Regions from separate parts of the Homo sapiens genome. Here regions 1, 3 and 4 are each linked to region 2. Evidence: promoter capture Hi-C in 16 types of primary human blood cells and fetal thymus (Javierre and others, 2016). All regions are on one chromosome and are shown on one strand. Each heading gives the region's core, a stretch centred on a gene start or on the middle of the fragment in contact. The rest is flanking DNA. Distances are from core to core; before and after follow the strand shown.

What was found. Contacts are between HindIII fragments. The CHiCAGO score rates a contact against its expected background, and 5 or more counts as called.
Region 1: a contact is called between the fragment with the promoter of ZDHHC5 here and the fragment with the promoter of SSRP1 in region 2, in 17 of 17 cell types (naive CD4 T cells, activated CD4 T cells, total CD8 T cells and 14 more). The highest score is 32.7, in naive CD4 T cells.
Region 3: a fragment that was not itself captured here is called in contact with the fragment with the promoter of SSRP1 in region 2 in 12 of 17 cell types (activated CD4 T cells, erythroblasts, megakaryocytes and 9 more); the score reaches 7.4 in activated CD4 T cells.
Region 4: a contact is called between a fragment that was not itself captured here and the fragment with the promoter of SSRP1 in region 2, in 2 of 17 cell types (monocytes and fetal thymus). The highest score is 5.8, in monocytes.

Annotation. Positions count from the first base shown.
Region 1 is chr11:57,666,778-57,669,477 of GRCh38, reverse strand. It overlaps ZDHHC5 (zDHHC palmitoyltransferase 5), which reads right to left and starts at 1,364. Exons shown (of 12, transcript NM_015457.3): 1 at 1,291-1,364. RefSeq lists enhancers at 663-732, 286-923, 924-1,563, 1,733-2,312 and silencers at 843-1,042, 1,293-1,532. The HindIII fragment of the contact is 3,116 bases long and covers 774-2,700 here.
Region 2 is chr11:57,334,538-57,337,237 of GRCh38, reverse strand. SSRP1 (structure specific recognition protein 1) reads left to right here and starts at 1,346. Exons shown (of 17, transcript NM_003146.3): 1 at 1,346-1,508; 2 at 1,998-2,170; 3 at 2,590-2,700. The coding sequence starts at 2,117. It also overlaps a transcript of P2RX3 not described here. RefSeq lists enhancers at 1,208-1,257, 2,108-2,177 and a silencer at 1,428-1,607. The HindIII fragment of the contact is 4,158 bases long and covers 1-1,408 here.
Region 3 is chr11:57,684,578-57,687,277 of GRCh38, reverse strand. All of the region lies in intron 3 of ZDHHC5 (zDHHC palmitoyltransferase 5), which reads right to left. Among named protein-coding and RNA genes, the nearest start is that of ZDHHC5, 18 kb to the right of the region's middle. The HindIII fragment of the contact is 5,752 bases long and covers 1-2,700 here.
Region 4 is chr11:57,618,460-57,621,159 of GRCh38, reverse strand. No RefSeq gene overlaps it. Among named protein-coding and RNA genes, the nearest start is that of MIR130AHG, 19 kb to the left of the region's middle. The HindIII fragment of the contact is 3,483 bases long and covers 1-2,700 here.

The DNA of each region.
Region 1 (2,700 bases), core at 115-2,614, 330 kb before region 2:
TCTCAAAAATGAGAAAAAAAGTAATATGTATGCCATATTGAGGCACAGAGTAAACTATGAAATGGAAATATGTATATGTAAAACAAACAATACAGGATATGTGGTTTGAAGGCTTTAATAAGGTTTAATACAGGTATTTCCTTAAATAGGTGGATACCAGCAGTACCAAGGACAACACAACTATTTTTTGTTGAAATAAGCGGTGTAACAGTACAATAGAGTAAATCTAAATGCACAGTAATGGAGGTACCATGGAATAATTCACATGTCAAGGTATGGGAGAAAGAGCCAAGAAGTTTAATGTGGGTGTTATCATTATATACCGAGGTAGCAAAATACATGGCAATATAATTTTGTAAACATTAAGTTTATACAATGGGTGATAATGAGCATTCTGAAGATATTTGATCCAGGACAGAGGTATACTGAGATAGAAGGATGATATGCAAATGTTAGATCAACTTGGTCAAGATGGCATTAACCAGGAAGTGAAGAATCCAAGGCAAAAAATAGTCTAGCGTATAACGTATATGTGATCCTACAACTGCCTTCCTAACTTTTAGCAACTTTCTTACTTCTTATTTCAGTGTTTCATTTGGCCAAGTGGGTAAAACACTTTCCACCTGCCTGCCCCAAATATAGGTAAAATATTGACAAACGCATTCGGGCTCCACTTTAAAAAGTACAAAGTACTAAACGCATGGAGCACTCGGCTGGTGGCGGTAGGAGGAGGAAGCGGACGGGTGAGAGAGAACAGGTAACAGGATGAAGCTTGAGCCAAAATAAGTATCAGCAGAGTGGAGCGAGGGACTCGAACCGCAGAGCGGTAAAAGGGAAACAGCACCCGGTCCCCACCACGGGACTGGGGAAAGGAGAATCACCCGTTGGGGCAGGGCTGACGACCGCTGAAACCGAAAAGAAGGAATCCACGGCGGCCAGGCCCACCGAGGTTGAGAGAGCGGGCTGCGGGGACCGCAGAGCCCGAGGGCGCAGGGCCGGGGGCGGAAGGGGCGGCGGCTGGGCGCCAGGCACCGGGGACCGCGGTCTCGAGCTGAGTGGCCGTCTCTAACCCGTTCCGAGCCCTGGCGGTCGTGGATCCCCGGCCTCTACTCGTCGTCCGTTTCCAAGGCCCATGGGTCCCGCCGCGGTTGGAAGACCCGGCCCGGAGGAGAAATAGGGCCTTAATACCCTCCCCGTCTTCGGTCCCCCTTCCCTAGAGGTCACCCTCCCCTCCCACCTCGCTGGTACGGCACTTCCGGTTCCGCAGGGACCGGTGTCCTCCGCACTCACCCGCGAGCCCGGTGCCCGTCACCACCGCCGTCGTTGTCACCGCCGCCTCCCGGCAGTGCCGTCCTGCCTCAGAGAAGCAGCGCGCGGCCCCCGCACGCTCCACGCCCGCCCCGCTGCCGCGCGCTCCCGCCAGGCGTCGCTCGTCTCGGAGCCGGCGCGCGGCCGTTGCCCTCAGTGCCGGGTCTCGAACCCTTCCAGCGTTCCCATTGGCTCCCTAGTCCGGGCTCGCGCGACGTCTCGCGCGGCGCACGTTTGTCTCATTCATGCGGCTCGCGCTGCCGCGCCCAACCCCGCTCACTCTCCCATTCACCCATAGCCCCCACCCCGACTCCGATCTGGGGCGTGCGCGCGAACCCTGGCGACCGCGGCGACCTCGCGGCCTGATTGGCTGCAGCAACACAACGACGTACGCACGCGAGAAGACGAGAGCGCGCACGTAAGGCCGTGGGGTTGCGGGGACAACTAAGAGACAAGGATTGGCCTAATGCACAGGAGTCAGGAATGAGGAAATGGCCAGGCGAGTCTTCCCTTCTCCTGCGTCCTGTTGTATTCCCACTGAATCCAAGCAAAAACCCCCGGAAATAAGAAAAGAATTATGTGTGTGTACTAGAAGTACTCAAAAGCAAGCAGCTACCTTCTCGAATTCAGCAACCCCTCTCCTACTGAGGTGGTACAGTCCAGACAGGCTTCCAGCGCAGCCAATTACCGACGACTATCGCCGCTTCCTGCTTCAGCCCCTTCGCGGCGGATTGGCCAACCATTTGGCGACTAGGCCTCCCTCTTCTCCTTCCCATCTCCTTTTTTTTTTTTTTTTTTTTTTTTGATGGCAAAAACTTTATTTAAAACAATCTTGCTGGAGAAATCTTCAGTCCGGCGAGGTCGCTGGTCCGGGCAGAATCCAGGGCGATGGAATGGTCTGGGCTGTGTCTCCCACATGAAGGGGACGCCCGGACTTGAAGAGCCAATGTAGGGCGAGGCTCCTGCCAAGGGCCGGGGAGGGAGATGAAGAAGAGCAGGCGCCAGCCTTGGAGCCGTAGCGCTAACCGTGAGAGGGAAGCCTAAGGAGCGCGCGACCTGAGGCGGTGGCAGCACCCTCCCGCCCCCGGAGTGCGAGCCGGGAAGTGAACTCCCTGAATTCCATTAGTTTCCCACTGTCACACGTGGGATGGGCGCCCGCATCCCTCACCTCACCCAATCCTAGAATACAAAGCTAAAAGCAAAAGGTTCTCTAGAATAGCTACTGTCCCTGGCGAGCTAACTCTGCATAGGTCATAGTGCTACGCTTTGCCCTGATTAGCCCAAGACAGCTGTGAACCCAATAGCAATGCCCCATGTTCTCTCCCCATTCGGCTCGAGGCTATTTCTTTTTTCGAAAGCAACTCTAGCTATTACATAATGGTCCCTCAAAAA
Region 2 (2,700 bases), core at 97-2,596:
TCACTGCAACCTCTGCCTCCTGGGTTCAAGCAATTCTCATGCCTCAGCCTCCTGAGTAGCTGGGATTATAGGCACCCGCCACCACGCCTGGCTAATTTTTGTATTTTTAATAGAGACGGGGCTTCACCACGTTGGCCAGTCTGGTCTCAAACTCCTGACCTCAAGTGATCTCCCTGCCTTGGCCTCCCCAAGTGCTAGGATTACAGGTGTGAGCCACCGTGCCTGGCCGGGGATGTTTTCACCTTGTTCAAGTTTCCTCAAATCTGAGAAGTGTGCTAAAGTAGTAATAGGCCCTCAATATCTATTTATTAAACCCAGTTGAATTTATTTTGCTAGATAATGCTGGAATAGCCACTACTCAGAGGTTAAAGCTATGAGTTCAGGGGAGAAGGGTGCATTCCTGTTGTCTCTTACCCCAGGATTGATTTAGCAAGCTGGTGTATTGATTGTCAGGGAAATCTTGAGCTTACATATTCTGTACTAATGTCTTCATGTAGGACACATATCAATAGTCATTCTGAACATACAGTCACTGTGATTATGACAGAAGATAACTGGACTGGTGGTGTTAAGGAGGTCTGGGTCCTACCTAGCCTTGTTGCCAACGCACTGAGACCCTGGGCAACTCACTCCCCTTTGGGTCTCAGTTTTCCCATCAGTAAAAGGAGGTTGGGGTAGAAAAACTAAAACATCTTTTCCAGGTCTGGTCTCTGATGTTGCAAAATGCACTCTGGGATTATACGGGGGAGACCTGGCTTCCGCAACCACAGGATGATGTGGTTTCAAATCAGTTCTGGCTCCAAGGTGAATCTGACACCAGGACTTGAACTGGATAAGGCCGTTTGCCAGCCTCTTGGAGGTACCTATAATTTTCGGTTAAGGATGTGAAAATTTTGGGTGTAGACAGTGAACTTGACAGTTCAGCCAGAAAGCAGTGCACCCACGATGACACCAACACCCGCATACTCTCCGCAGCCAGTGGGAGAGGTCGTTTCCTCCCACAACTGTTCAAATACTTCTCTTCTTGTCCCATCGACTCCTTTCCATGACATAGAAACTATTTTGCAGAGAAACGGGCACGCATCATTCCAATACACACCCCCACCCCACCCCTGTACTAAGTCTGATACAATAAAACTACACAATTTCTCTTTAGTATCTAGTCTCGACTGAAGAAGTGTCTGTAGTTTCTAAAGAGCCCTACACACATTTTCTAGGCCGGATTCCCCCTGGGTGAGAGAGGCTTCACGGCAACCACCCTTCCCTCAGGTCCTCCAGAGTCGCTGACGCTCTATGCGACTGTCTCGCAGGCGGGCCCGACTCGCGTCTCTCTAGCCAGCTCATCCTCTCTGTGGCCTGTGTACGGCTTCCGGTGGCGGGACGCGGGGCCGCGCACGCGGGAAAAGCTTCCCCGGTGTCCCCCCATCCCCCTCCCCGCGCCCCCCCCGCGTCCCCCCAGCGCGCCCACCTCTCGCGCCGGGGCCCTCGCGAGGCCGCAGCCTGAGGAGGTAGGTGGTGGTCGTCCCCGGTCCCAGGAAGGCAGGGGCCCCGCTCCCCCACGGGACCCTCGACATGGACCATTCCGCGTTCGCAACCGCGGGGAGCGGGCGAATCCATTATGTGGGGCGGGGGTGAACCGTGGGTCTGGGGCCGCGGGGTGGTGGGAGCGGTGCGAGGGAAACCCTGCACTCTGAGCTGGATTGGGTCGCGTGCGATGTGCGGGCTCCTGGCAGACCCTGGGGTTCCGCTGCTCGTTGCCATGGCTCCCGCCGGAGCGGCCAGAGCGGGCGTCGGGTTGGGTGTCAGCGGTATTCCGGGCCCGGTTCTCCACCCAGGCCTGGACCTGGACCCTCGGGCACTGCAGCGTCCGTCTGTAGGTTTCCAGGCAGAGGAAATCCTGAGACATCCAGGCGCAGCTGGGAGTTGCTACCTGGCTCCATCCGTGAGCACAGCGAGGTGCTGTCTTTCATGCTTATCTGTCTTCCTCTTGAATTCAGATTCCCAACCTGCTGAGCATCCGCACACCCACTCAGGAGTTGGGGCCCAGCTCCCAGTTTACTTGGTTTCCCTTGTGCAGCCTGGGGCTCTGCCCAGGCCACCACAGGCAGGGGTCGACATGGCAGAGACACTGGAGTTCAACGACGTCTATCAGGAGGTGAAAGGTTCCATGGTGAGAATGGCTTGGACAGGTGATACAAGTAGAGAGAAGGAAGGAGGGTAGAGTTTTTGTCCATTAATGAGAGCTTGCTTTGGTAACGTTATTTTGGAAAAAGAAGACTCAGTATAATGTGTACCTAGTGTCTCCACCAACTCAAGGCAATACTGAGAGATAGTCTCAGAGTTATAGGGACCGTATATGCTGTTCAGTTCCCAATTCCTGTTTTACAAATGAGGAAACTGAGAATCTGTTAAGGGTTCTAGATACCAGAGTCTGGTTTAGAATCTAGACTCCTTGGCACCCTCAGCTGTTGCTCCTGCATTGATAATCTGGCCAGTCCACTTGCAGCAGGAATGTGTGTTAGGTAGAGCTGTAGAACCCAGGACATGCTGTGTACTGTCTCCATGCATCTGGGCCTGCTTTTCTTACAGAATGATGGTCGACTGAGGTTGAGCCGTCAGGGCATCATCTTCAAGAATAGCAAGACAGGCAAAGTGGACAACATCCAGGCTGGGGAGTTAACAGAAGGTATCTGGCGCCGT
Region 3 (2,700 bases), core at 47-2,546, 350 kb before region 2:
ATTAACCTAGAAAAAAAAAATGTGGGAAGGAAAAATTAAATAGATGATAGTGTGGAATTAAAAATTAAGTTTTCAAATTTTACTGATTTCTTTACATAGCATTTTTTCATATTTACATCACAAGAAATGCTAGGTAAAGAACTGTACAGCTGGGTACGGTGGCTCATGCCTGTAATCCCAGCACTTTGGGAGGCCAAGGAGGGCAGATGACTTGAGGCCAGGAGTTCAAGACCAGCCTGGCCAAAATGGCGAAACCCCATCTCTACAAAAAATATAAAAATTAACCAGGGGTGGTGGCACACGCCTGTAATCCCAGCTACTTGGGAGGCTGAGGCAGGAGAATGGCTTGAATCTGGGAGGCAGAGGTTGCAGTAAGCCAAGATCATGCCACTGCACTCCAGCCTTGGTGACAGAGTAAGACACTGTCTGGAAAAAAAAAAAAAACACACACACACACAAATATATACTGCAGATACATGGTATACATAAATATACACATATATTTTTTAAGTCTTCAAAATATTGCAAGGATATATACCACAATATAACAGTAGTTAGCTCTGGTCTGTGAAATTATAGGTAATGTTTTGCCTTTTTTGTACTTCGTACATAATGAATGTGCACTACTTATTGAAATCTTTAAATAAAAGATTTTTTCTTTTGGTCAGGCACAGTGGCTCATGCCTGTAATCCCAGCACTCTGGGAGGGTGAGGCAGGTGGATCATTTGAGGTCAGGAGTTCCAGAGTAGCTTGGCCAACATGGTGAGACCCCATCTCTACTAAAAATACAAAAATTAGCCAGGCACGGTGGCACGCTCCTGTAATTCCAGCGACTCGGGAGGCTGAGGTAGAATAATTGCTTGAACCCGAAAGGCAGAGTTTGCAGTGAGCCGAGATGGAGCCACTGCACTCCAGCCTGGGCAACAGAGAGTGAGACTCTGTCTCAAAAAAAAAAAGATTTTTTTCTTTTAAAGGGAAAAAATTCAAATGCTATTTTTCTTTTAAGAGAGTTTTGCTCTATCACCCAGGCTGGAGTGCTGTGCTGCGACCACAGCTCACTGCAGCCCTGAACTCCTGGGCTCAACTGATCCTCCAACCTCAGCCTCCCAAGTAGCTGGAACCGCAGGTGGGCACCAGCATGCCCAGTTGCAATGCTCCTTATTTTGAAATGTCTGATCCTTCTACATCATCATCTACCAGAAGTGATCTCTTTGATTACTCTTACACAATGTATTTGTTTTTTGTTTGTTTGTTTTGAGATGTAGTCTCACACTGTCGCTGGAGTGCAGTGGCGCAATCTCAGCTCACAGTAACCTCCACCTCCCGGGTTCAAGCGATTCTCCTGCCTCAGCCTCCCGAGTAGCTGGGATTACAGGCATGCGCCACCACGCCCGGCTAATTTTGTATTTTTAGTAGAGACAGGGTTTCTCCATGTTGGTCAGGCTTGTCTCGAACTCCCAACCTCAGGTGATCCACTCACCTGGGCCACCCAAAGAGTTGGGATTACAGGCGTGAGTCACGGCACCCGGCCCACGGTGTATTTGTTTATAGAGGTGTCTTCCTATCTTCCTTTCTAGTCTGAGCTATTTGAAAGGAATGACCTTTTTATTTTTTATTTACTTTTCTTCAGATGGAGTTTTGCTCTTATCGCCCAGGCTAGAGTGCAATGGGGCAATCTCGGCTCATCACAACCTCCACCTCCCAGGTTCAAGCAATTCTCCTGTCTCAGCCTTCCAAGGAGCTGGGGTTACAGGCACGTGCACTACCATGCCTGGCTAATTTTTATATTTTTAGTAGAGACGGGGTTTCGCCATGTTGGCCAGGCTGGTCTCGAACTCCTGACCTCAAGTGATCCGCCCTGGCCTCCCAAAGTGCTGGGATTACAGGCGTAAGCCACCACGCCCGGCCAGCAATGACCTTCTTAAAAACCCCAAATGACCATCATAGTGCCTTCCATAATACATCAATAAATATTTGATGAATGAACATTAAAGGCTCATTAAAATAGCCTTTCTTGGCTTTAGGGACACAAAGTTCTTTTCCCTCACCCAATCTTTGAAGGGAAGTCACAAACAAAGCACAATGATGTAGGCTTTGGGAGCACAATGAAGTTCTTTTTTTCTTTCTTTTTGAGACGGAGTCTTGCTGTTGCCCAGGCTGGAGTGCAATGGCACAATCTCGGCTCACTGCAAACTCTGCCTCCCCCACTCAAGCGATTCTCCTGCCTCAGCCTCCCAAGTAGCTGGGATCACAGGCACCCACCACCATGTCGGGCTAATTTTTGTATTTTTCAGTAAAGACAGGGTTTTACCATGTTGACCAGGCTGGTCTTAAAGTCCTGACCTCAGGTGATCTGCCCACCTTGGCCTCCCAAAGTGCTGGGATTAAGATGTGAGCCACCACGCCAAGCCTACAGTGAATTTCAGAAAAACTTCATCTCAGCAGAGTTGCCAGCCCGAAACTACTTGTCTCACTCTTGCAAAATAACCTCACATTTGAGAGGAAAACTACATGTCATCAGTGACAACCTTTGTCAACTTATTTTCTTTCTACCTTTTAGTCCACTGATGATGGTTCTCTCCCCTCCTATTCCAGAAAGAGCCTACTTCTTCTGCAAGCATAACCTTCAGAAATGTACTGGAAAGCATCTCCTTCCTCTAAAAGTCCAATTTCAATTATCACCTTTCTTCAACCTCAGC
Region 4 (2,700 bases), core at 90-2,589, 280 kb before region 2:
AACCTCTGCCTCCCAGATTTAAGTGATTCTCTTGCCTCAGCCTCCGGAGTAGCTGGGATTACAAATGCCCACCACCACCCCCGACTAATTTTTGGTAGAGATGTGGTTTCATCATGTTGGCCAGGCTGGTCTCGAACTCCTGACCTCAAGTGATCCACCCACCTTGGCATCCCAAAGTGCTAAGATTACAAGCATAAGCCACCACTTCTGGACTTCTGAGATCTTGAATGAGTAGATCAATTGCACTGTAAGGTTTCATTTTTCATCTATAAAAGAGGATAATAATGAGGTGGTACTACTGTATATTATATAAATTTGAATTATACAAACTTGAAAAATTGAAAATCTCCCTAAATTAAAAAAAATCATCAAGGGTTGCATAATTTCAAAATTGGTGGGCTGAGTGGATTGTAAACTATACTCATAACTATTGGTACATGATAGTGGCACTTGAGCTGGTGAAAGTAAATAACTGCCATCACTGCTCATAATTGTGTGAATCAGCTATTGTTTATGTGCATCATAAATTCTGACAGTGACATTTGTGACTAAGGTGCTGTTATTTTAACATTCAGCTTTATCATTTAAAATATTTCCTGTATTCTACAATGATGTCATCTCAGAGTTCATTCATTAAGTCATGGCACTAGTGCTAAAAACACCCTCCAAAATCAATAACTTTGTAATGAAAGTTAGATATGATAAGACACTATGAAAAAGCCCAAATAGCTGTCCTGATATGCCAAGCAGTTAATTTAAGAGTGCCTACTCTGAGAAATATTAGAGATTTTTGTATTTAGAAAATAAACAATAGTTTGAAGACAAGAAATTCTACAATGGTTGAAGATTCTCTCCCTACCTTTTACAGTTATTATTCTGGAAAACTTAGTATCAAATTATCTAAATTTTGAATTATCTAATATATTCAGTAACATATCCTTTTCTTAAGTCATGATCTCTCTTAAATGAAATAACATAATCCATGTAAAATTCTTAACACAGTGCCTGACAGCATGGCAAATGGTTAATGCATGTTAGGTAGATACATGGCTAATGTGGTTATCAACCATGAGTCAAGACAATGTCCTAAGGGTTCATAGGGATGAGGCTGATTCTGACATAGCCTATGGCTCATGTTGGAAGCCTTCTGCTATCCAGAGAGAACTAAAGGTATTGATCTTTGAGAAACAGTGGCTGAACAAGTGTAAAGTGTAAACTTTGGAATCAAAGTTTAAGTCCCCACATCAGCTGTTTAAGAATCTGGAACCGGCCAGGCACAGTGACTCACACCTGTAATTCTAACACTTTGGGAGGCCAAGATGGGTGGATCACTTGAGGTCAGGAGTTTGAGACCAGCCTGGCCAACATGGTAAAACCCCATCTCTACTAAAAATACAAAAATTAGCTGGACACATGGTGGGTGCCTATAATTCCTGCTACTCAGGAAGCTGAGGCAGGAGAATCCCTTCAACCTGGGAAACAGAGGTTGCAGTGAGCCAAGATCGCACCATTGCACTCCAGTCTGGGCAACAGAGAGAGATTCTGTCTCAAAAAAAAAAAAAAAAAAGAATCTGGAACAGCAAAAACATCTCCCTGAAAAGGCAAGTGTCCATGGGGCTATGCAGGACAAGCCTTCAACAATGACACCAAGTGGCAGCAAAGACTCATTGCAATGGAACCCTAATCTCACCTTAAGGTTCTTCCCCAGACAAATCCACGTGTGGAGGGGTCTACAGTTGGGGACAGGAAACAGATCACTGAAAATGGATCTGTGGACATACAGGCCTTTGTCTACCCCAGAGTAGAATTGCAAGGCAGGGCAGAAAGGTGGGGGTTGTAAGGGTGTGTGTGTGTGTGTGTGTGTGTGTGTGTGTCTATGAGTGCATAGCCCTCTGTCCATCTTTCTCAAGGGAAATGGAAATGAAGATAATTTATTTATTTATTATTATAAATACTCAGGCAGCTCTGTATTTATAATAATTTATTCTACAACACAGGCAGCTGGAAGAGCCAGAGATTGTTAAATATGCCACAGAGATAGCAACAGAAGATTCAATTTATATGCAAACGACTTGAAACTTCATGTAACAAAGTGTTTCTAATATTATTATGATCTCGACAAAAGCCCTTGATTCTTTAGGGAAAAACAGAGTGGCAGGTTGCTGGGGAAAGTTGCTAATAGTTGTTTGCAACTATGTAAGACCACATATGGTATACTGGAAAAGTGGCCAGAATTATTCACATTTCGTTATATTAATGCCCTTAGCAGAATGACTTTGCAGGTCTTTTCTTTAACAGGTAGAGATTCTTTCCTTACCTTGAATCTAAACTGGTCTGGTGACTTGCTTTGGCTGCTAGAATGAGGCAGAAGTGATGTTCTAGTAGTTCCTAGCTTCGGATTCAAGAGGCCTTGCATGCATGCCTCTGCTTGCTTTCTTGGACTTTTGCAAACTTCGTATGAATAAGCCAGACTAGCTTCCTGGAAGACCAGAGATCACTTGGATCAGAATTGGTCATCTGGTTGATCCCAGCCAAAGTCTAAAACATGTGAAAGAGCCTATGCAAGCTCAGTGAAATCAAACCTCAACAAACCTTCAGCTAACCCCCAGCTGACTGTAGCAGGTACATAACTGAGGCTACCCTAGATTTGCCAAGCCCACACTGGGTCAATGACTCATTAGCAAAATAAATGTTCAGGCT